Regions from separate parts of the Homo sapiens genome. Here all the other regions are linked to region 1. Evidence: promoter capture Hi-C in 16 types of primary human blood cells and fetal thymus (Javierre and others, 2016). All regions are on one chromosome and are shown on one strand. The core of a region is centred on a gene start or on the middle of the fragment in contact, and the rest is flanking DNA. Distances in the headings are between cores, read along the strand shown. Region 1 holds the start of PCSK7 (proprotein convertase subtilisin/kexin type 7). Region 2 has its middle 49 kb from the start of BUD13. Region 3 overlaps BUD13 (BUD13 spliceosome associated protein). Region 4 holds the start of LNC-RHL1 (lncRNA regulator of hepatic lineages 1). Region 5 has its middle 3.9 kb from the start of APOA1. Region 6 overlaps SIK3 (SIK family kinase 3). Region 7 overlaps SIK3 (SIK family kinase 3).

Region 1 (2,942 bases), core at 120-2,619:
TCACACGTATTCCCCCCCGGAACACTGAAGAGCGCATAGGGCAGATAGGTAGATGGGGCTGTGTCAACACCTCAGTCACAGCCCACAGACCCTCTGTGCCTCAGTTTCCCTCATTATACAAAGCTCCTGGGAGAAAATGGGCCCAAACCGCCATTGCTGCTCCCTCAGGTGCAAACATCCCGTCTCCAACATAGCCCAGGGCTGGGGGGTCCTCTGCGCCCGGTGAACGAAACCCCAGGACAAGGGCCATGCATGCAACTCCGTGGCTAGAGAGCCCGTGGCGCGGGTAGGAACAGCTGGCTGGAGGGTCGAGTGTACCAAAAAGAACTCCGCAACCCGGGGCGACCACCAGCGAAGCAGGGGCGCCGGAGCCACGGGTCCTCGGGCGAGAACAGGGGACAGACGGGAAGGGGACAATGGGGGGAAGCGGCGCTGGGTGGCCTTGGCCACCCCCCACAGGGGACTGCTAGGCTGGCCGCTGGCTCGGACCAGACCCCCCTCCACCCCTTCCCCTCGGTCCCCCCACCCCGCTGCCAGCCACCCCCCCGTCCCACTTCTAGGCCGGGACCCCCGCCTCGGTTCTCACAGCACCCTCCACGCCCCCCACCCGACCCCCATGCCCGGCCCTCGCCCCGCAACCCCCACCCACGCTCGCCCCGCACACACCTCCCGCGCCGCGCCCCCGGGAGGAAAGTGGGGGAGGGACGGGACGCACCTGAGCGGGCGGAGCGGGGGGAGGGGGCGGCCGAGCCACGGGGGGAGGGGTCGAGCGCCGGCCCGCGCGCGGCACCTCCCACTTCCGGCGGCACGAGCGGAGGGGGCGAGGCTCCGGCCGCGAGAGGAGAGGCCGCGGTGGCGCCGCGCCGCCCCCGACGGCGCCCTCTGGCGGCGACAGCTGGCGCCGCCGGGGCACGGGGATGCTGCGGGAGACCCCTGAGATACAAGTGGACTCTCCCGGGGCGCGGGGAAGAAGGGAGAGCCGACTGCGAGAAGGAAGGCGACCTGGGTGGGCAGGATCCCCTCTGGGAAGATTACAGGGACAGTCGGGGCCATGGCGGTCAGAAGGAGAAGAGCAACGAGTGGCTTTTAAAGGTCGGAACCGAAATGCCCTTTACAGAGGACGCCATGAAGGAGAGCCTTCTGAAGAGGGACCATGTGGAAGATGCCCCGAGGACTCGGGGAGGCGGAGCCCGCGGGTTCAGCCCCCAGCGCCCGCACGGCCCCTGCCTGCGTAGGCCGCCCGCGGGAGCCGGACCCCGGGCGCCGGTTGCTGTGGCCCGCGGGGGTCGCCGGGCCGCAGGCGCCGCGCTGATTGGCTGCGCCGCGGGCGGAAGTGATGCTGCTGTCACTGCTCCTCCGGCTCCCGGGAAGCCGCGAGTTTCCGCAGGGAGGCGGCGGCAGCTGCGGCGGGGCCGGTGAGTTGGGAACTAGGTGTGGGGCTGGACCTGGGTGGTCAGGGGGCCCCAGAAGTGGGGGAAGCCGGCGTCTGAGGATGAGGGAGCTGCACAGAGGGTGCCTGAGGTCCTGGCGTGGGGGACCAAGGAGATGGGGCCCCAGGGCCCAGAATTCCTGGATAATGTGGGTGCTAATGAGGAGAGGGGCACATTGCACGGAGCGATCGAGGCCGACGGAGGGAGAATCGGGAAACTGACCCGGTACCCAAGCTGGCTTCTAGGAGCCGGGTGTGGAACAGCGAGGACAGTAGCTTGGGAGCAGGATCTTGGACTCCAGGCTGCCCATTCTCTTCTTCCTTGTCAATTAAGAGCTGTAAAGGGAGGCCTAGCCGTTGGGAGAGGTTGAGACCTGCTTTCAGAAGGCATTTAAGGTTCCTTTCCCAGAAGCCTGGGGGATAAAAATGCTGCTTTGCCACTAGTAGACAGAAGGAGCTCCTGCTTCTCTTTCTTCCTGACATCTGTGGTGGGATCTACTGAGTCTGAAGGAGTCTGCCTAGCGGGGCCACTGTCTGGCTAACAAGGGTTTTGTTTGTTAGTTTGTTTACTTAGTAGAGTATGCAGACTGGGGAAGACACCTAAATATCTTGGGAGAATTGAGGCTCCCGGGGGCAGGGAGGGATTGAGAGGGAATATGCCTGGAAACCTAAGAGAAAACGAGAGGAAGAAATGTAGTATGAAGATTTTTAGAGGTAAAGGAGAGGTGGCATAAGTTCTCCTTTCCAGGAAGCCTTTCAGTAAAATTCCCATTTTTCTGGAATGCTTTGAGGTAGAGCCGCTTGGGTGTGTATCTGAGTACTAAGCCCTGCCCCAGGGTGGACCCAGTGGAGAGCAAAGGCTTTTAAAGGAGCCCAGCCACCATAGGTACACACATGTCCTGCCACCCCATTTGTCTGTCCCCCAGTTCTAACTTGGCTCTTTTTTTTTTTTTTTGAGGGCTCCTGAGACCAATTCCCTGGTTCTGTCAAACCCAGGCAATTGGAGTCCCAGTCTGGAGTCTGAGTCCTCACCTTGAAGCCAGCCTCCTGAGCTCAGTACAGGAGTAGCTGCTTAGTGAGGTTCTCTCATCATTCGTTCTCTCCTGGTTGCCCGCTTGTCCTTGGTGCCTGTTCTGTTTTGTTTGCACTCTCTGGCTTTCCCCGTTTCGCCCCCGCCGCCTCCCTCCTTTCACTTTCCCTGGTATCCTTCTGGGATATACAAATCAAGAAGTTAGCTACCACCTGGACTTCTAGGACGTTATTACCTACTCTTTCAAGAGGCATTTTGGTAACTGTTTTTTGCTAGGCCTCTGGGGAACAAAATGAAAAGAGGGTGGCACGATAGCACAGGAAGTGGGTTTTTTGGGTGTTATACTGATTTGGCCTCACCGTACCAGTTCTGCTCCAGTCTATGACCGATTTTAGATCTTTGGAAATGACAATTAATGAAGTTTCTTTGGTCCCTGGTCCTGGAGTTTATCTAACCTCAGCTTGTTGCCCTGGGATTGGTGGG
Region 2 (2,942 bases), core at 231-2,730, 510 kb after region 1:
AAACAGGGGAGCAAGGCTGGTTCTTTCCTTTCCCTGACCCGGCGGGGTCCCTTTGCCCTTGGGAGTGTGGACGGAAGGGCAGGGAGCTGGACAGGGAGGATGAGGTCCAGCGCCCTGGGTGAGGGCCCTGGTCGGGGAGACGGTGCCCGGTGGCTTGGCCTCCCTAGCAAGGACTCTGCCCCTTGTTCCTCAGCCTGTCAGGGAGAAGAGGAAGGGCTCTCTCTGGTGCTGTGTCGAGCAGCAGCCTCCCACACGGAGTGGGGAGGGGAAAGTTGAAACGCACCTTGACTCCTGACCATCTCCTCCCCACCCTCACCCCCACCCCCACCACGGCAGACATTGTTGGAAGGCATATTAATGGAGGGGTTAGGCAGTTTGGAGACAGACTGCCTAGGTTCATGTCCTTCTCTATCTCATTCTTGGACATATCACTTAGGGTCTCTGAACCCTGATTTCTCCATTTATAAAATGTGGCTAATAATGTTACTTACCTGTCACATGGTAAATGCTCAATTGAAAAGGCTAACATGAGAATGCCATTTTCTGTTATGTACATGATGCTTCATACAATCACACTGGCGCACATATGCGATTATGTGTGGGCTTTCTGTGCGCTCTGCCCTTCCCCAGCTTTGCTGTCTGTCCTTGTTGCTTCCAGAAGGTTGAGAGGGAGGTGAGGGGTCTGCTCCTGACAATGCTGACTACTGAGGGGCTGAGTGCTGCCCAGGAAAGTAGGTAGCAGAGGAGAGAGGACTTGGCCTAAGCGAGGGAGCCAGGGCCTTACAGAGGAAAGGAAAAGGGGGCAGGGGGAAGGAGGACAGGGAGGGTGGCTGGGTATGGCAGGAGTCAGGGCATCTCAGAGGCATGAAGGAGCTGGGGGTGCTGCCTTCCTACTCGGGCTCACCCGTCCAGCCCCCACACTGCCCTCCACACCAGACACCCAGCAGTGCTGCTAAGGCCACTGGCCAGGGGGTGTGGGCCACCTGCACCTACTGCTTGCCTTTGGGGGAGATTTTTTTTGGGGGGATTCTTGGCTCTCTTGGGTTATGCTCCTCCTTCTGGTGTACCCTAGGCAGGGAAGAGTTTGGGGAGAATGGGAGGCTGCTGTGAGGGTTATAGGTGGGTTACTTCACGGACTCCGTGAGTCTGGGGCTCCTTCTGTGAAGTCTCAGTGACAGGACACGAACCCAAGAACTGTTGGCATGTGGCATCCTTGCCTCAGGAGCTCTTCAGCAAGTGCTGGAGTTCACATGGCCAGCCTGAGGGAGGGGTCTTCTGTGTTCTCTCTGCACCCCTTCCCCTCCCTGCAGCCCAGTGTCCTCAGGGCAGGGGTGGGTGGCAGTGGGGAGGAGGGAGGGGAGATGGTCTGTGATCTCTGGTTGCAGTGAATTTGGGACTAAACATCATTAATGCTGACAGATGCCAGCCATACTAACTTGTAGAATAACAGGACAATCTAGGGGAAAAAAAAATCACTAAAAATATTGACTAAAGGCTTCAGATTTGTGCCTCCTCCCTGCACACCCCAATATGAGATAAATCTCTCTGCATTTATGGACTCCAAGTGTGTCTCAGCATCCCTGAAGTGCCTGCGGGGCGGGTGGCTTGCTCTCCTTGGGTCTGGTTCCCTCTCCTCAATATCCCTGTGAAGTGGGGGCAGGTGGAGGAACATGGAGAAAGAAAGGACAATGGTGTGTGCAGGGCCCTATTGTGGGGAGGGGGCCGGGGTCACCCGCACCACCCCAGGGATGGTGAAAAGAAAGGGTTGGGTTTATGAGCTTCTCTTCTCTCTTTTTCTTTTCAATTACAATGATACCTCAGGTAATTAACTGCTAATAACCTTGTTAATTTAAAATGGATGCTCTCCCTTCTGGCTCTCTCAAGGAAGGCTAAAGCCACCAGGGGTCAGCAGGTTTGGGGGAGCAGGAGAGGGTGGGCAGGAGAGGAGAGGATGCTGGGTGGGAGGCCCTTGTGGTGGGCAGGCAGGGCTGTGGCTGGCTGTGTGGCATGCTCTAAGGGGCCCGGCTGCTGTGGAAGTCCAGAGGTACTGGGATCCCTTCAGCCCCTCCATATTCCTGCACAACAACTGGATGGGTCACCTGGGCCCCCGACCTGGGGAAGAGAGCCTGTGGCTCTCTCCAGCACCGCAAGCCTTTGCCATGGAGCAGCAGCAGCTGCTCAGCCCGAGGCACCTCCCTGTTAGGAACTACCCGGGGCCTTTGGGCTCACGATCCTAGAAACTCACCCTGCTGAGGGTCACGTCTCCCATCCCCACTGCTTCTCAATCGCAGGGATTGGAGATACAGTCAGGAAGGGAATAAATGTCTCATTCTGAACAGTTTAGACATTTGTCAAGAGTCAGGCATCTAGACGAGGTATCTGTGATCTTTTTAGTTCAAATATGTATTCGTTAGACAGACTTTTAAAGTCTAGCCCAGGTCTTAGTGATACAAAGCTGAAGAAAGATAATGGTTCCTGCCTTCAAGGAGCTCATTGTCTCAGTGAAGTAAACAAATAATTACAACACAAACTGTGCAGAGCGTAGGGGAAAAAAAATACCTAATCTTGTAGGGTGTGGGCAGTCAGGGCAGGTTTTCCAGAGGAGGGGTATTTAAACTGGGCACTGATGAAACAGGAGGAGCTCCCTAGGCTGCTAAGATGGAGTGTAGGAAGGCCTGAAGGCAGGAGGGATGGCAGGAAGCATGAGAGGCTGTGGCTGCTGGGGAATGGGCAGTGCCTTGATAGGGATGAAACACAGGGAGAATGAGGAGGCAGCTGGAAAGAGAAGCGGGAGCCAGGTCATGAAGGGTTGATAGGATTTCTTCTAAGAGGTGACCTCCCTTGCCCATGGGATCTTAGCCCAGGCAACTGGGGGGCCACTCCCTATGGCCTGGTTCCCAAGGAGGCTCCTTCCTTGTGGGATTAACTCCTAGAAGGCGTGG
Region 3 (2,942 bases), core at 305-2,804, 480 kb after region 1:
TTTTCCTGCCCCAGATCCCCTCCAGAGTGATCTCTTTGAAATGCAGTTTAAGTTCTTGCTTTAAACCCATCGTTTCTGGATGAAATCTAAGCTTTTTACCATGGCCTACGCAGCTCATTATGCATTGGCCTCTGCGCCTTTCCAACTTTGACTCATGGCTGTTCCCTTTGTCATACTTCAGGTTCCAGCCATACCAGTTTGCCTTTGGTTTGCTGCACATACCAGGCCACTTCTTATTTCCGTGCCTTTGTTCTTGTTGCTCATTCTGTTCTGAAATGACCTCCAGACCCTTTCTGGCCCTTCCATCCCCAGTGCTGTAGTTAACACAGAGCCTTTACTGATCATTCTTGCCCAACCCTCATGTCACCTTTTTATCATACCTCCCCCAAGCTGATTAAGATACCCATTCTGTTTCCATGACACCCCATGCGTATTTCTACCAGAGTTTATGCTGTTCTTTTAATTTATTTGTTTAAATGTCTCTCTCTTCCACTAGTCTGGGAGTTCATCAGGACAGGTGCTGTGTCATACTCATTTTCATGTAGTGTCTACCATGGTACCTAGTATATAATGAAAATTCAATAAATGTTTGTGTAATGAATGGATAAAATATAAGATGTGGACATCAGCTGAGAGAGAACCAGGCTTTTAGAGTGGCAAACGTTTGAAATAGCTGTCAGAGTGGGGGAAGGGTGTGAACAAGGACTAAGAAAAGGATGAATGATATATTTTGTCCCTTTGATTCTATTGCATATGCCTTAAATATTTTCTTTTCTTTTTTGTTTCTTTCTTTCTTTTTTTTTTTTTTTTTTTTTGAGACAGAGTCTCTGTCACCCAGGCTGGAGTGCAGTGGCACGATCTCCGCTCACTGCAACCTCTGCTGTCCAGGTTCAAGCGATTCTCCTGCGTCAGCCTCCCGAATAGCTGGATTACAGGCACCTGCCACTGCACCTGGCTAATTTTTGTATTGTTAGTAGAGACAGGGTTTCACCATATTAGGCAGGCTGGTCTTGAATGCCTGACCTCGTGATCTACCCGCCTTGGCCTCCCAAAGTGCTGGGATTACAGGCGTGAGCCGCCGTGCCCGGCCATGCCTAAAATATTTTCATATGACTCCTTACTTTCCCCCCTTTTCATTATATTGTGAACTCTTCCCTTTCTTTTGAAACAAATGCCCCTTTCAGGGTTCTAGCTGAATAGTATGTCTCTTTTGATTGCAGATCCAATGGATTTGAACAGAAGCGCTTTGCCAGGCTTGCCAGCAAGAAGGCAGTGGAGGAACTTGCCTACAAATGGAGTGTTGAGGATATGTAACTTTCCTGAGGCTGTGGGGGTGGCTGGGCTGTGGTAGTGGGCATAGGCAGCGAGATATCCAGTGGTAACAGTTGTCTGTGCTAATAATTGGAGCCCACACAGACCAGCAACTTGTTGAATGCCAGTTTTGACCACAGAAGAATATTCGAGACCTGATGTTTGGACTGAGGTACCTGTACTTCTTGGGTGTGACAGCACCGGCTGTTGCTGGCTTTCAGAGGAAGCATTGATTTCTCATTGACCAGGGTTTGTTCTTGGTAGGGTTTTTCTTTTTCTTTTTTAAATAAACATGTATTTATTTTTTTAAAATTATCTTCTTAACTGGGTATTCTGTTTTGGGAAGAATACAGGCTAATATTGAACCTGTGGGGATTTGGGGGGTGGTGGTTGAATTTTTCACTAATCTAGAAAGCAGTGTGAGTAAAAACTTTCTTAGTGATAGATCCTTCCTCTGAGAAAACAGGAATTAGTACTAAACTAGACTCAGGAATAGACACACAGATATTTGGAGACATGGTGTATGATAAAGATAGTGTCACAAGTTAGTAGGGAAGAGATGGATAATAGTGCTCAGAAAATTGGCTTATTATATGGACAAAAATAAAGTTGAACCCTCATACCATATAAAACAAAAATCCCAAAGTGATTAAAGACCTAAATGAAAGATAACGTGATATACAGCTAGTAGGAACAAATGGCAAATGTTTTTGTGCCTTGGGGTAAAGATAAATTTCTTAAATAAGATCCCAAAGCACAATGCATAAGATTTGATAGCTTTGATTACTTTGTAATTAAAGGTTTCTATTTAGCAAAGCATCCCATAGTCAAAGCTAAAGATGGATACGGATTAGGAGAAAATATTTGCAGTGTCTAAAACTGACAAGGATTGCATATACAAGGGATAGAATATAGAAAGAGCTTCTGCAAATCATGAAGAAAAAGACAGATGAAATAAAAATATGCAAAAATATGAATAGGTAAAATCTAAAGAGAAAACCAGAGTGGCTCATAAGTATATTACCTCACTAGTAATTACAGATACGCTAATTAAAACACTGAGTTTCTACCTTACATCTTAGTTTGGCAAAAATAAGCAAGAGACTGATCTGATGGGGAATCAGAACTCATGGAATATTTTCTCTTCTTTTCTTTTCTCTTTTCCTTTCTTTCTTTTTTTTTTTTTTTTTAAAAAGACAGAGTCTTACTCTGTCATCCAGGCTGGAGTGCAGTGGTGCCTCTGCCTCCCAGGTTCAAGCAATCCTCCCACCTCAGCCTCCTGAGTAGCCAGGACTGTAGGCATGCGCTACACAATTTTTGTTTTTTTAGTAGAGATGGGGTTTCACCATGTTGGCCAGGCTGATCTCGTACTCCTGACCTCAGGTGATCCGCCCGCCTTGTCCTCCCAAAGTGCTGGGGTTACAGGCATGAACCACTGTGCCCGGCTACATGGAATATTTCAGCTGGTGTATTCATTTTGGAGAACAAATGAATGAAACTTACTGAAATCAAGTAATACCTAGGGAGCGATATTGCAGTTTTTAATAGTGTGGCTCTGGAGCTATACTGCCTGAATTTGAATCCCAGCTATGTCGTTTGCTAGCTGTGTAACCTTTGGTAAGCCAGTTAAC
Region 4 (2,942 bases), core at 214-2,713, 420 kb after region 1:
CCTAGCAAGTGGTGGAATGGGATTTTTTTTTTTTTTTTTTTTTTTTTTTTTTTACCAGCGCTTTGGGAGGCCAAGGCGGGTGGATCACTTGAGGTCAGGAGTTCAAGACCAGCCTGGCCAACATGGCGAAACCCCCTCCTCTATTAAAAATACAAAAATTGGCTGGGCTTTGTGGTGCGTGCTTGCAATCTCAGCTACTAGGGAGGCTGAGGCAGGAGAATCGCCTGAACTCGGGAGACGGAGATTTCAGTGAGCCGAGATCATGCCACTGCCAGCCTGGGTGACAGAGTGAGACTCTGTCTCCAAAAAAAAAAAAAAGAAGAGAAAGAAAAAAATATGCCATTTTAGGCCAGGTGTGGTGGCTCACACCTGTAATCCCAGCACTTTGGGAGGCTGAGACAGGTGGATTGCTTGAGCCTAGGAGTTCGAGACCAGCCTGGCAACATGGCGAAAACTTGTCTCTACAAAAAATACAAAAATTAGCCAAGTGTGGTGGTGCACACCTGTGGTCCAAGCTACTCGAGAGACTGAGGTGGGAGGATTGCTTGAGCCCAGGAGGTTGAGGCTGGGGTGAGTTGAGATCATGCCACTGCAGTCCAGCCTGGGCAACAGAGGAAGACCCTGTCTCAAGAAAAAAAAAAAAAAGAAGAAGAAGAAAAGAAAAAAATGCCACCACTTTAGTATTACTTTTATAACATAAAATTTACCATTTAAACTATTTATAGGTGTTCAAGTCAGTGGCATTAATTACATTTACAATGTTGTGCAACCACCGCCACCACTATTTCTGAAAATCTTTTCATCACCCCAAACAGAAAACTCTATCCATTAAGCAATTGTGAAAACTGCCGCTATGAATGGGGGTGTACACATATCTTTCCAGTCCTTGCTCTCAATTCTTCTGAGCAAATATCCAGAAGTGGAATTGCTGGGTCACACGGTAATTCTATATTTAAATTTTGGAGGAACCGCCAAACTGTTTTTTTATAGTAGTGGCACCATTTCACATTCCCACTGGTGACGCCCAGGGTTCCAATTTCTTCACAGCCTCTCCAACGCTTGTTGTTTTCTGTTATTTTTTGGTTTTGTTTTATTTTGTTTTTAACAATAGTCATCCTGAGAGTAGTACTTTTAAAACCAGAAATAAGTAAGAAAAGAAATATTCCCCAGAGCTTCTCCAGGCTACAGTCTATGCCACCAGGAAAGACTGAATCATTGAGACCCATAGGAGAGCGTGTGCTGGGAGGTCCCTGTGGGCACCAGGGAGGTGTGTTTGAACTCCAGCCCAGCCCACATTAGCTTACCCAACAGTCCCTCAGAGCCAGCACAATTTCAGGCCATTATCTCCCTGGTCACCACTGGCTCCTCAGGTGACTTGGAAGTAGATGACTCCTCTGTGGGCCTGGGTTAGTGCCTCAAAGGCATGCTGACCAGCACTGGTTTGGGCCAGGCTGAGATGCTAGCCACACTCCTATGCCCATCCCCAAGTTCAAAGGTCAGAAGTCCTCTGAGAACATCCAGGGTCACTACCCCTGAGGTCTCTGGTGTACTACGTGGCCCTGATTAGGGCAAAGGGAAGTGATCTGAGGGCCACTCTCTTCCTGTACATACAGGGCCTTGCTGCTCTTGAGGGATTGTCCTGGCAGGATCAAAAGCAGCTCCTGCATGGGGACGCCGTGTCCTCCTGCTGTTATCATAGTATGCCCTGTGCTCCCAGGAGGAGGCTGAGGTATGTCCTGGGGACAGAAACAACAAGCTTAGGGTTATTTGGGCACTCCCTTGTCTCCTGTCTGAGAGCGTGCAGGGTGGAGTCATGCTATCTTGCTGTGTGATGACAAGTAGCTGACAATGCAGGGGCACAATAAAAACCCCCGAATGGCCCACATCTGAGGAGCGAGGGTTTGGTGAGCTGCTGGTTCTGAGATAATGGATTGGTGATATGGGAACAAAAGACCTAGGACCTGGAATCATAAGATCACAGGGCATTAGGGTTGGAGGGAACAACCTTGTCTCTCAGCCCTAATTCCTTTGATATCATTTAAGGAATGATCTTAACTCTAGGCTAACAGCCCTCGAGCTCAGGCACACCATTTGTTTGTTCATCATTGTATTTGCAGGATGTGGTAGCTAGCCCTCACAATGGTGGCTGATGTGTGATCAATAGGCTATGTCATGGTATTTCACTTCTAAGTCTAGATCATAAAGGGCATTGTGGCACCTACCTTGATTTCTCTTGGATCACTCATTCTGAGGGAAGATAGCTGCCATGTTGGGAGGACGTGCAAGCAGCCCTGTGAAGAGGTCAACACAGGGGGGAACTGAAGCCCCTTCCAAACAGCTAGCACCAACTTGCCAGCCATGTAAAGTGATTCACCTTGGAAACAGATCCTCCAGCCTCAGCCAAGCCTTCAGATGCAACCTCATGACAGACTCTGAACCAGAAACACACAGCCAAGCTGCTGACCCACAGACTTTGTGAGAGATCATAAACATTTACTGTTGTTCTAAGACACTGTTTTAGGGTGCTTTGTTGTACAACAATAGCTTACTGAAAATACAGAGAGCCTAGCACAGTGCCTGCATGTGGTCATCACTCAATGGTTGAGCGAGTGAATCTTGCTTAGTATTGAACACTCCCACTGACAGCTAACTGTACCATCTCTCAAAACAATTCATTCTATCTTTGGGCAATTCTGTTAAAGATTATTAGAATTAAATTGGATCTTTCTCAATACAGCTTCCACATCTTGGTCTTATTTTTACTGCTCTTTCAAAAATCATTAAACTGGAATCTTTCTTAACATAGCTTCTACACTTTGATCTTACTTTTTTTCTCTTTCGAACCATAGAATAATTATTCCTTTATACATGCATTCTACGTACAGGAAATCTTCCCACAGACTCATTCATGGAACCCCAAACCATATGGAGAAAATTGAGCC
Region 5 (2,942 bases), core at 443-2,942, 390 kb after region 1:
CCTTCATGACGTGACCCCCATTGGCCGAGTGAAAGGATAGCCAAATAAGTATTTGGAAAGAAAGGGAGGGGCCTGGCATGGCTCACGCCTGTAAATCCAGCACTTCTGGAGGCCGATGGGGGTGGATCATCTGAGGTCAGGAGTTTGAGACCAGCCTGGCCAATGTGGCAAAACCCCGTGTCTACTAAAAATACAAAAATTAGCCAGGTGTGGTGGCAGGTGCCTGTAGTCCCTGCTACTCAGGAGGCTGAGACAGGAGAATGGCTTGAACCCAGGAGGCAGAGGTTACTGCAGCAAGCCAAGATTGCACCACTGCACTCTAGCCTGGGTGACAGCGGGATACTACATCTCAAAAAAAAAAAAAAAGCGGAGCGGGGGTGGAATTTTCCTATAGTTTTCTCCTTTATCCCACACCTGAACTCCAAAGGGCAGGGTAGAGTTTCCAGCAAGTTTCCAGGCATGGCTAAGAGACAGGTGGTTGAAGGTCTTCTATGAAGAAAGCTTACTGAAGCTGGAAAGACCATCTGAGTTCACAGAAGGAAGAATGAGAGGAGGGAATTTAGAAAGCCTTCCAAGCTGGGCATGGTGGCGTGCGCCTGTAATCCCAGCTGCTCAGGAGGCTGAGGCAGGAGAATTAGGTAAACCCAGGAGTTGGAGTCCAACCTGGGCAACATAGCAAGACCCCCACCTCTACAAAAAATAACCAGGCTTGGTGGCACATGCCTGTAGTCCCAGCTGCTCAGGAGGCTGAGGCTGAAGGATCATGTGAGCCTAGGAGTTTGAGGCTGCAGTGAGCTGTGATCGCACCACTGCACTCCTGCAAAGAGAAAAGAAAGATTTCAAGTCCATGAGGGCGGCTAGAAAGTTGCTGTAGGGCCATTTAGATTAGAGAAGAAAAGAGCCTTCTCAAGAAGGGCCTTCTGGCCGGGCGCGGTGGCTCACGCCTGTAATCCCAGCACTTTGGGAGGCCGAGGCGGGTGGATCACGAGGTCAGGAGATCGAGACCATCCCGGCTAAAACGGTGAAACCCCGTCTCTACTAAAAATACAAAAAATTAGCCGGGCGTAGTGGCGGGCGCCTGTAGTCCCAGCTACTTGGGAGGCTGAGGCAGGAGAATGGCGTGAACCCGGGAGGCGGAGCTTGCAGTGAGCCGAGATCCCGCCACTGCACTCCAGCCTGGGCGACAGAGCGAGACTCCGTCTCAAAAAAAAAAAAAAAAAAAAGAAGGGCCTTCTAAAACTCCTCTGAGTCTGTATACGCTGTCATGCAAGACTAGGTGAGTCTCTAGAATCAAACAGTGATAATACCCAGATGCCTTCCAGCAAATTGTAGCACCTGTTGCAATAGGTGCCACTCCCTCCTAAAATCAGCCAGGGTGCCTTTGGACCAGAGGTAGGGTGAGCTTTTGTAGGAAGCAGGGCACTGGCTCCTGGATACAGACTGGAGAGCTTAGCTCCAGAAAACAGGAGCCATGTTGACAGAAAACCGTGCTCTACACAGTTTTCTTTCTGACTTTGTGCCAGCCCCCACCCCACCCCAACTGCAAAGATCAAGAACTCAGAGGGCTACTGTGCTTCCCTCCTGCTGATCAAAGATGAGCTCTGTCCTGGCCTTAGTCTTTTCCAAGCAGGAGGGCAGGAGAGAATCTTGCATAGCTGGCTACGGTGCCCCACCCAAGGGTCTAACTTGGGGCTCTATCACAAAAGCTGCAGCAAAATTGCCAAAAGTAGGAACTACTGGGGGTGGGGGTCCTGTCTCCCCTGCTCAGTCACCACCTCCCCTCCCTAACTCTCATTCTGGCTCATACCACGTGCTCCCAGAAGAAACGTTCTGAGCAGGGGCTGGTATGAGACTGCCTCCCCTCCCAGGACCCACTCCTCCCTATGACCAGGCTGGTGACCCTCCCTCTAGGGTGCCAGTGCCATTCACTGAGCAGATGTTTGGCAGGTGTCTGTTATGTGCCAGACCTAGCAGGGGACAGAGTCCTCCCGATACAGATGGACCAGTATGTTTGGACATAAATTGTGAAAGGAGTTGCTAATCTTTCTGTGCAAAATCCACTCTTGCGGTCACCGCCAACACTCCTACACATGTCAGGGCATCCAGGGCCAGGACTTGGTAACCCTGTTCAGGAGCAGTCGCTCTGGAGACTCCCAAGACGAGGGAAAGAAATGGGTGGAAACAGGGGCCTACACTGTGGGCCCCGCAGCCACCAAACAGTCCAACCCGTGGCCACTGAGTGCCTTGAACAATGCCTGGCTGGACCCTGAGTCTGAGTGTGTCATCAACCCAGTTTGTTATTGTCGTTGTTGTTGTTATGTATTTTTCCATCAGCTCTGTCCAGAAAGACCTCCTTCCTTTCCAAAATATTAGTAAAGGGGGCTTAGACTAGTTTAAGCCAAATACCTTGCAATAAAATGGAGTAGCCACCCTGGTGAATAAGTATATTTAGAAAAGGAAACTGCCTGCTTGGTAAGATGCTGTTCAACAGCACCCCCTATCCTGATGCCTCGCAGTCCCTGAGCCAGGAAACTGAGAAGTCCCTGATCAGACTGCAAAGGCTGCAGGCTCCGCAAGGGTGCAAGGCCACCCTCAAAGAACTAGAAGCCAGGCCTCCCGATTCCCACCCCTGCCAGCGCTAAATAGTAACCGCTGAAGGATGCAGGGCAGCTGTGAGCTGCAGTTTTCCCACAGGCAAAAATCACAAGGGTAAAATCTGGCCTCCAGCCTTATAGGGATATTCTAAGTTGTGAAAGTGCTTTGGCCACAAAGAACTGCGCAAATGTTAAATACTAGGTTTAGCCATAACAATCATTTTAGTAACAAACCAAAGAGAAGGGTGAAACACTGGCAAGTATCTTGGAGTCCAACCAGTAAGCTTCTGAGATTCCCCCATGTGCTGACTGGGACAAACTCTACCCCCCAAAAGAAAAGACGCTCTC
Region 6 (2,942 bases), core at 135-2,634, 370 kb after region 1:
TCACCCAGGCTGGAGTGCAGTGGTATGATCTCGGCTCACTGCAACCTCCACCTCCGGGTTCAAATGATTCTCCTGCCTCAGCCTCCCAAGTAGCTGGGATTACAGGCGCCCGCCACCACACCCAGCTAATTTTTGTATTTTTAGTAGAGACAGGGTTTCGCCATGGTGGCCAGGCTGGTCTCGAACTCCTGACCTCATGATCCGCCCACCTCGGCCTCCCAAGTGCTGGGATTACAGGTGTGAGCCACCACGCCCGGCCTAGAGTCTGCATTTTTAACCAGATGCCAGGCCATTTGTGTGCATGTGAAAGTTCAAGAAGCACTGCCTAGATCCGAGTTACCCCATGTAATCCATGGACCAGCTTTTAAGGGAACTTGTTGGAAACACAAATTCTTAGGGGCCCATCCTGACCTACTGAATCAGAGTTTGAAACAGAATTATATAGATAGGACCCAGGAATCTTCTGTTTAACAAGTTCTCCAGACTTGTCCTATGCTCAGTGCAGTTTGAGAAGCACTGTTCTAGCTGGTATGTCGTCTGAGTATTCTCATTAGCTCTCATTACTTCTGGCTGGCTGGTGGCCTGGGCACTTGGTCACTCTGAGGTTCCTTTCTCTCCAGGGGCTGCATCTTCTTCCCAGTTTCAAGGCTTACCTTCCCGCAGTGCAATCTTTCAGCAGCAACCTGAGAACTGTTCCTCTCCTCCCAACGTGGCACTAACCTGCTTGGGTATGCAGCAGCCTGCTCAGTCACAGCAGGTCACCATCCAAGTCCAAGAGCCTGTTGACATGCTCAGCAACATGCCAGGCACAGCTGCAGGCTCCAGTGGGCGCGGCATCTCCATCAGCCCCAGTGCTGGTCAGATGCAGATGCAGCACCGTACCAACCTGATGGCCACCCTCAGCTATGGGCACCGTCCCTTGTCCAAGCAGCTGAGTGCTGACAGTGCAGAGGCTCACAGGTAAGACCGCCTAACGTCACCCAGCCATCTATGCATGGGATCCAGGTGGGAGGAAGCCCCTTAGCAGAGTGAGAGAAAAGGAGGGAAGGAGAATGGGTCTGACTAGGCTGTGCTCTTGTTTCACGCTTTCTAAAATCAGGATGCTGGGTTTGGAATGAACTTGTCAGCTTTTTATTGACCCAGGGTTAAAATTCTAATGAGACTGAGGTGGAAAATGGGAAAGCTACCTTATTATTTGCTACCTTATTATTTGCTTGCAAAGAAGAAAATGGCCTGTTAGAGGAATGTATAAAAATTCCAGTTCCCCTTTTCTTGAAGGGAGCATCTTGAAGTTGCTTCCTTCAAAATGAGCTAGATCTATTACCCACGCAGTGCCCTCAGTCCCTTGGAGGTTACTGGACAAGCCAGTAATGGAATAAATAGGGACAATGCATACATCTGCCACTTCTCTGTCACACCACAGTTCTCTGTACCAGTGGGTTCTCCCTACTGAGGAGGAGGAGCTGTTCCCAGGAAGTCTAGTACTTGTTACATGGATGTCTGGTACTCCCTTTTGTGTCTGCAGCTTGAACGTGAATCGGTTCTCCCCTGCTAACTACGACCAGGCGCATTTACACCCCCATCTGTTTTCGGACCAGTCCCGGGGTTCCCCCAGCAGCTACAGCCCTTCAACAGGAGTGGGGTTCTCTCCAACCCAAGCCCTGAAAGTCCCTCCACTTGACCAATTCCCCACCTTCCCTCCCAGTGCACATCAGCAGCCGCCACACTATACCACGTCGGCACTACAGCAGGCCCTGCTGTCTCCCACGCCGCCAGACTATACAAGACACCAGCAGGTACCCCACATCCTTCAAGGACTGCTTTCTCCCCGGCATTCGCTCACCGGCCACTCGGACATCCGGCTGCCCCCAACAGAGTTTGCACAGCTCATTAAAAGGCAGCAGCAACAACGGCAGCAGCAGCAGCAACAGCAGCAACAGCAAGAATACCAGGAACTGTTCAGGCACATGAACCAAGGGGATGCGGGGAGTCTGGCTCCCAGCCTTGGGGGACAGAGCATGACAGAGCGCCAGGCTTTATCTTATCAAAATGCTGACTCTTATCACCATCACACCAGCCCCCAGCATCTGCTACAAATCAGGGCACAAGAATGTGTCTCACAGGCTTCCTCACCCACCCCGCCCCACGGGTATGCTCACCAGCCGGCACTGATGCATTCAGAGAGCATGGAGGAGGACTGCTCGTGTGAGGGGGCCAAGGATGGCTTCCAAGACAGTAAGAGTTCAAGTACATTGACCAAAGGTTGCCATGACAGCCCTCTGCTCTTGAGTACCGGTGGACCTGGGGACCCTGAATCTTTGCTAGGAACTGTGAGTCATGCCCAAGAATTGGGGATACATCCCTATGGTCATCAGCCAACTGCTGCATTCAGTAAAAATAAGGTGCCCAGCAGAGGTAAGTGTCTCCTCACAGTGGAAGTCCTGGGCCAGTCTGCCCTAATCAACTGACTCAGTAATGTTATCTTTTTTCAGCTAGTATTCTGTGTTCCTAAGAAAAAAAGAATTTCTGAGCTTCACGACCTTCTTGGGGAGAAGCATGTAGGAAGTGGGTATTGGTGGGCAAGGGGTCCATTTTCAAAATCAAAGGACCATGATACAAAATTAACACTTAGTCAATAAGATAGATGATCCATTTCCCTTATTCATACCACAGTTTCTTGGAATCCAGAAATTCCTGACTGCCATCCAAACAGCTAACTTTAAACTTGTGCAATAGAAAAAAAGTCAGCCCAACATAATTTAGTGTAAATAGTGTGGGAACAAGAGTCAGAGCACCTTAATTCTGCTCTTGCAGCTATCATAAATACGATAACTTTGTCATTTAATCCCTCTGATTCTGATTTTCCTCATCTGTGAAGAAGGTGTTGGAGGAACAATGGAGTATCTTACGGTGTATCTGTGGAGATGAAAACATGTATATAT
Region 7 (2,942 bases), core at 178-2,677, 320 kb after region 1:
GAGTTAAGATTATCTGAAAGATTACTAAAACTATGTCAACTTTCAGTTATACAGGTTTTTAAAAATATTATCTAGGTTTTTTTTTCTTCTTTTCTGGCTATGTTTTTTCATTTGATAGTTTACATATTGAAGGAAAAGAAGGAAAACCTAATTTTTTTTAGTGTTCTTCGTTAACAGCTCTTGTTAGAACTAAGGAAGCAAGTGATATTATAGACAAAAATGAATTTTTAAATTATATGTAGTGTATACTAGCTTTGTCTCTTACTAATATGGGTTACTGAGAAATAGTTATTAGTGTGGGAGTAATACTAATATTTTCAATCATGTGACTAATAAGCATATCACTCACACCTAATTGCCATTTTAGCATTAATGATTATACCTATCACTAAAATATTTACTCTTCCTTTAAAATTATATTTAATGATAACTGGAAACTTCATCATTGTATATATTCTTCCTAGATTACAGTTTTTCTTCATATATGAAAATTGCTATTTTCAACAAAAACTTTAGTTGAGATCTCTGTCTTACCAAGTAGTTCCCAGTTCCTACACTCTGAGTTCTGATACATTCATTTCCTATTTCAAACTGTATCGCTCTTTTCTTCCCTTTCTCCCACCCTCTCTGTTCTTAGTTAGTCAGTGAGTTGTTTTAAGATATTTATTGAGTGCTTTCTCTTCCTGTCAGCACTGTGCTAGGCCCTAGGAAATCAGTGGTGAGAAAAACCTCTGCCCTCAAAAGCCCTAATGATTGTGGAGCTTAGATCCCAGAGCAGTGGTTCCAAGTGGCGAGAAATAGCAGTGGAGGAGGAAAAGGAGCTATTCTTGTCTCTTTTGTCTTTCATTTATTATGAAATATTATGTTTATACATAAATTTTCTTTAAGCATCTGTGTATACTTTAGTGAATCACTAGAAGCAAATACCTGTGTAGTAATTGGCACTCAGGTCAAAAAACTAGAAAATTTCATCAGCCAGGCTGTACACCTCATCACAACCATATCCTTCCCCCAAGAGAAAAAAAATTTTTTTTGTACTTTTGTGTTAATCACTTATGTGCTCTACTTTATAGGTGTTTTTTTTTTTCTTTTAGTAGTTTTGCCACTGATGTAATGCATTACTTAGGAGTTTTGCTCCAAGGGATGCCATTTATACTGAATATAATGTGTAGTGGGTCCATCCTTAAACAATATAGTTTTGCTTGTTTTGAATGATACATGAATAGAATCATATTGATTATATTATTTTTTGTCTGTTTCATCCAACAGTCTGTGAGATTTATCCATGTTGTTTGTATAGCTGCGATTTATTCATTTTTATTTCTATATAGTATTCCATGATATGAATATACCACAAGTTATTTTTCCATTGTACCTATTAATAGCTATTTTAAAAGCAGAAGCCCCTATTGCTTTCAGTTTGGGGCACTTACTAACAGCTGCAACGAACATTCCTAAACATTTATCCTGGTATACTCTTAAACATTAGTGTGTATTCTTAAACATTTAAGAGTGTAAACTGAGAAGTGAAATTGCTGGGTCATATGGTGTGTGTTTTTAGGTTTTATTTGGTAATGCTGAACTGTTTCCAGTAGGTGTGAGAGTTCCACTTGCTCCATGTCCTCTCCAGTGCTTGTTATTATCTACTCTTAAATTTTTGCCCATCTGGCAACTGTGTAATGATTATCTTGTTGTGGTTTTAATTTTTACTGTTTCTCTTTAATAATGAGATTGAGCTTCTTTTTGTGTCTCTTGGCCTTTTTTTGTCAATTGTCAATAGTCTTTTGCTCATTTTTCTACTGGATTCTCTATTGGTCTTATTGATTTATAGGAGTTTGTTTCTTTTTGATAGTCTGGATACAAGTCCTTTGTTTTTTTTGTTTGTTTGTTTTTTGTTTTTTGATGATTGATTGGTTGGTTGGTTGTTGAGATAGGGTCTCACTCCATCACCCAGGCTGCAGTGCAGTGGCGTGATCACAGCCCACAGCAGTCTCGGCTTCCTAGGCTCAGGCAATCCTCTTGCCTCAGCCTCTCGAGTAGCTGGGACCACAGGCATACACCACCATGCCTGGCTAATTTATATTTAGTTTTTGTGAAGACGAGGTCTCCCTGTATTTGCCCAGGCTGGTCTTAAACTACTGAGCTCAAGCAATCCTCCTGTCTTGGCCTCCCAGAATGCTGGGATTACAGGAGTAAGCCACCACGTCCAGCCGAGTCCTTTATTTTATAAGTTACAAATATCCTCCCTCACTTTGTGGTTTCTCACTTTCTGTTTAACGTGTGTATAAATTTTGGCATAATTCTAATGTAACGAAGTTTACCACTTTTCCCTTTATGATTAGCACTTTTTGTTTCTTGTTTGAGAAATTCTTCCATCCCCTGAGGCCGTAAAGATACCTGCTTTTTTTTTTTTTTTTTAAATAAAAACGTGATAGTTTTACCTTTCACATTAGGGCTATAATCCACCTGGAATTAATTTGGGGATAGAGTGTGAGGATGGCAGCCTCTGTAATTTTTTTCCATATGAATAACGAGTTGTTCCTGTGCCACTTTTTGAGAAATTTATCCTTTTCCCATTGATATACAGTGTCTACCATTCTTTTCTATGCATGTTTTTAAAAGAAACTTGACGCAGTATTCCTGAAGCATTATGTGTCTTTGGGAATTAACATAAGCAGAGCAAAGGGTGGCAGTCAATAATAAAATGAAAAACAGTAAACTGTAATAACTAAGGAATTTGCAAGTTTTTTGTTTTTTTGAGACAGTGTTTTGCTCTTGTCACCCAGGCTAGAGTGCAGGGTGCAATTTCGACTCTGGTGCAACCCTCCGCCTCCTGGGTTCAAGCAATTCTCCTGCCTCAGCCTCCCGAGTAGCTGGGATTTCAGGCACCTGCCACCACACCTGGCTAATTTTTTATTTTTAGTAGAGACGGGGTTTTGCCG

The links. The method cuts DNA at HindIII sites, captures the fragments that hold promoters and counts their contacts. A CHiCAGO score of 5 or more calls a contact.
Region 2: a fragment that was not itself captured here is called in contact with the fragment with the promoter of PCSK7 in region 1 in 5 of 17 cell types (neutrophils, naive B cells, fetal thymus and 2 more); the score reaches 7.1 in neutrophils.
Region 3: a contact is called between a fragment that was not itself captured here and the fragment with the promoter of PCSK7 in region 1, in 11 of 17 cell types (naive B cells, naive CD8 T cells, naive CD4 T cells and 8 more). The highest score is 10.4, in naive B cells.
Region 4: a contact is called between the fragment with the promoter of LNC-RHL1 here and the fragment with the promoter of PCSK7 in region 1, in 14 of 17 cell types (naive CD8 T cells, naive B cells, monocytes and 11 more). The highest score is 9.8, in naive CD8 T cells.
Region 5: a contact is called between a fragment that was not itself captured here and the fragment with the promoter of PCSK7 in region 1, in 14 of 17 cell types (naive CD8 T cells, naive CD4 T cells, naive B cells and 11 more). The highest score is 11.2, in naive CD8 T cells.
Region 6: a contact is called between a fragment that was not itself captured here and the fragment with the promoter of PCSK7 in region 1, in 16 of 17 cell types (total B cells, naive B cells, naive CD4 T cells and 13 more). The highest score is 18.6, in total B cells.
Region 7: a fragment that was not itself captured here is called in contact with the fragment with the promoter of PCSK7 in region 1 in 3 of 17 cell types (total CD8 T cells, naive B cells and total B cells); the score reaches 6.5 in total CD8 T cells.

Annotation. Positions count from the first base shown.
Region 1 is chr11:117,230,500-117,233,441 of GRCh38, reverse strand. PCSK7 (proprotein convertase subtilisin/kexin type 7) reads left to right here and starts at 1,369. Exons shown (of 17, transcript NM_004716.4): 1 at 1,369-1,415. RNF214 (ring finger protein 214) reads right to left here and starts at 771. Exons shown (of 15, transcript NM_207343.4): 1 at 716-771. RefSeq lists silencers at 632-971, 1,182-1,331 and enhancers at 1,522-1,571, 2,441-2,680. The HindIII fragment of the contact is 17,537 bases long and covers 1-2,942 here.
Region 2 is chr11:116,722,849-116,725,790 of GRCh38, reverse strand. No RefSeq gene overlaps it. Among named protein-coding and RNA genes, the nearest start is that of BUD13, 49 kb to the left of the region's middle. The HindIII fragment of the contact is 6,964 bases long and covers 1-2,942 here.
Region 3 is chr11:116,746,854-116,749,795 of GRCh38, reverse strand. It overlaps BUD13 (BUD13 spliceosome associated protein), which reads left to right. Exons shown (of 10, transcript NM_032725.4): 10 at 1,221-1,623. The coding sequence ends at 1,314. Among named protein-coding and RNA genes, the nearest start is that of BUD13, 25 kb to the left of the region's middle. The HindIII fragment of the contact is 2,921 bases long and covers 94-2,942 here.
Region 4 is chr11:116,812,703-116,815,644 of GRCh38, reverse strand. It overlaps LNC-RHL1 (lncRNA regulator of hepatic lineages 1), which reads left to right and starts at 1,463. Exons shown (of 2, transcript XR_007062898.1): 1 at 1,463-1,729; 2 at 2,192-2,736. The HindIII fragment of the contact is 5,163 bases long and covers 1-1,758 here.
Region 5 is chr11:116,840,043-116,842,984 of GRCh38, reverse strand. It overlaps APOA1-AS. Among named protein-coding and RNA genes, the nearest start is that of APOA1, 3.9 kb to the right of the region's middle. The HindIII fragment of the contact is 2,377 bases long and covers 504-2,880 here.
Region 6 is chr11:116,857,283-116,860,224 of GRCh38, reverse strand. SIK3 (SIK family kinase 3) reads left to right here. Exons shown (of 25, transcript NM_001366686.3): 20 at 621-960; 21 at 1,526-2,415. Among named protein-coding and RNA genes, the nearest start is that of APOA1, 21 kb to the right of the region's middle. The HindIII fragment of the contact is 5,146 bases long and covers 1-2,942 here.
Region 7 is chr11:116,907,464-116,910,405 of GRCh38, reverse strand. The region is part of intron 4 of SIK3 (SIK family kinase 3); the gene reads left to right. Among named protein-coding and RNA genes, the nearest start is that of APOA1, 71 kb to the right of the region's middle. The HindIII fragment of the contact is 7,535 bases long and covers 1-2,942 here.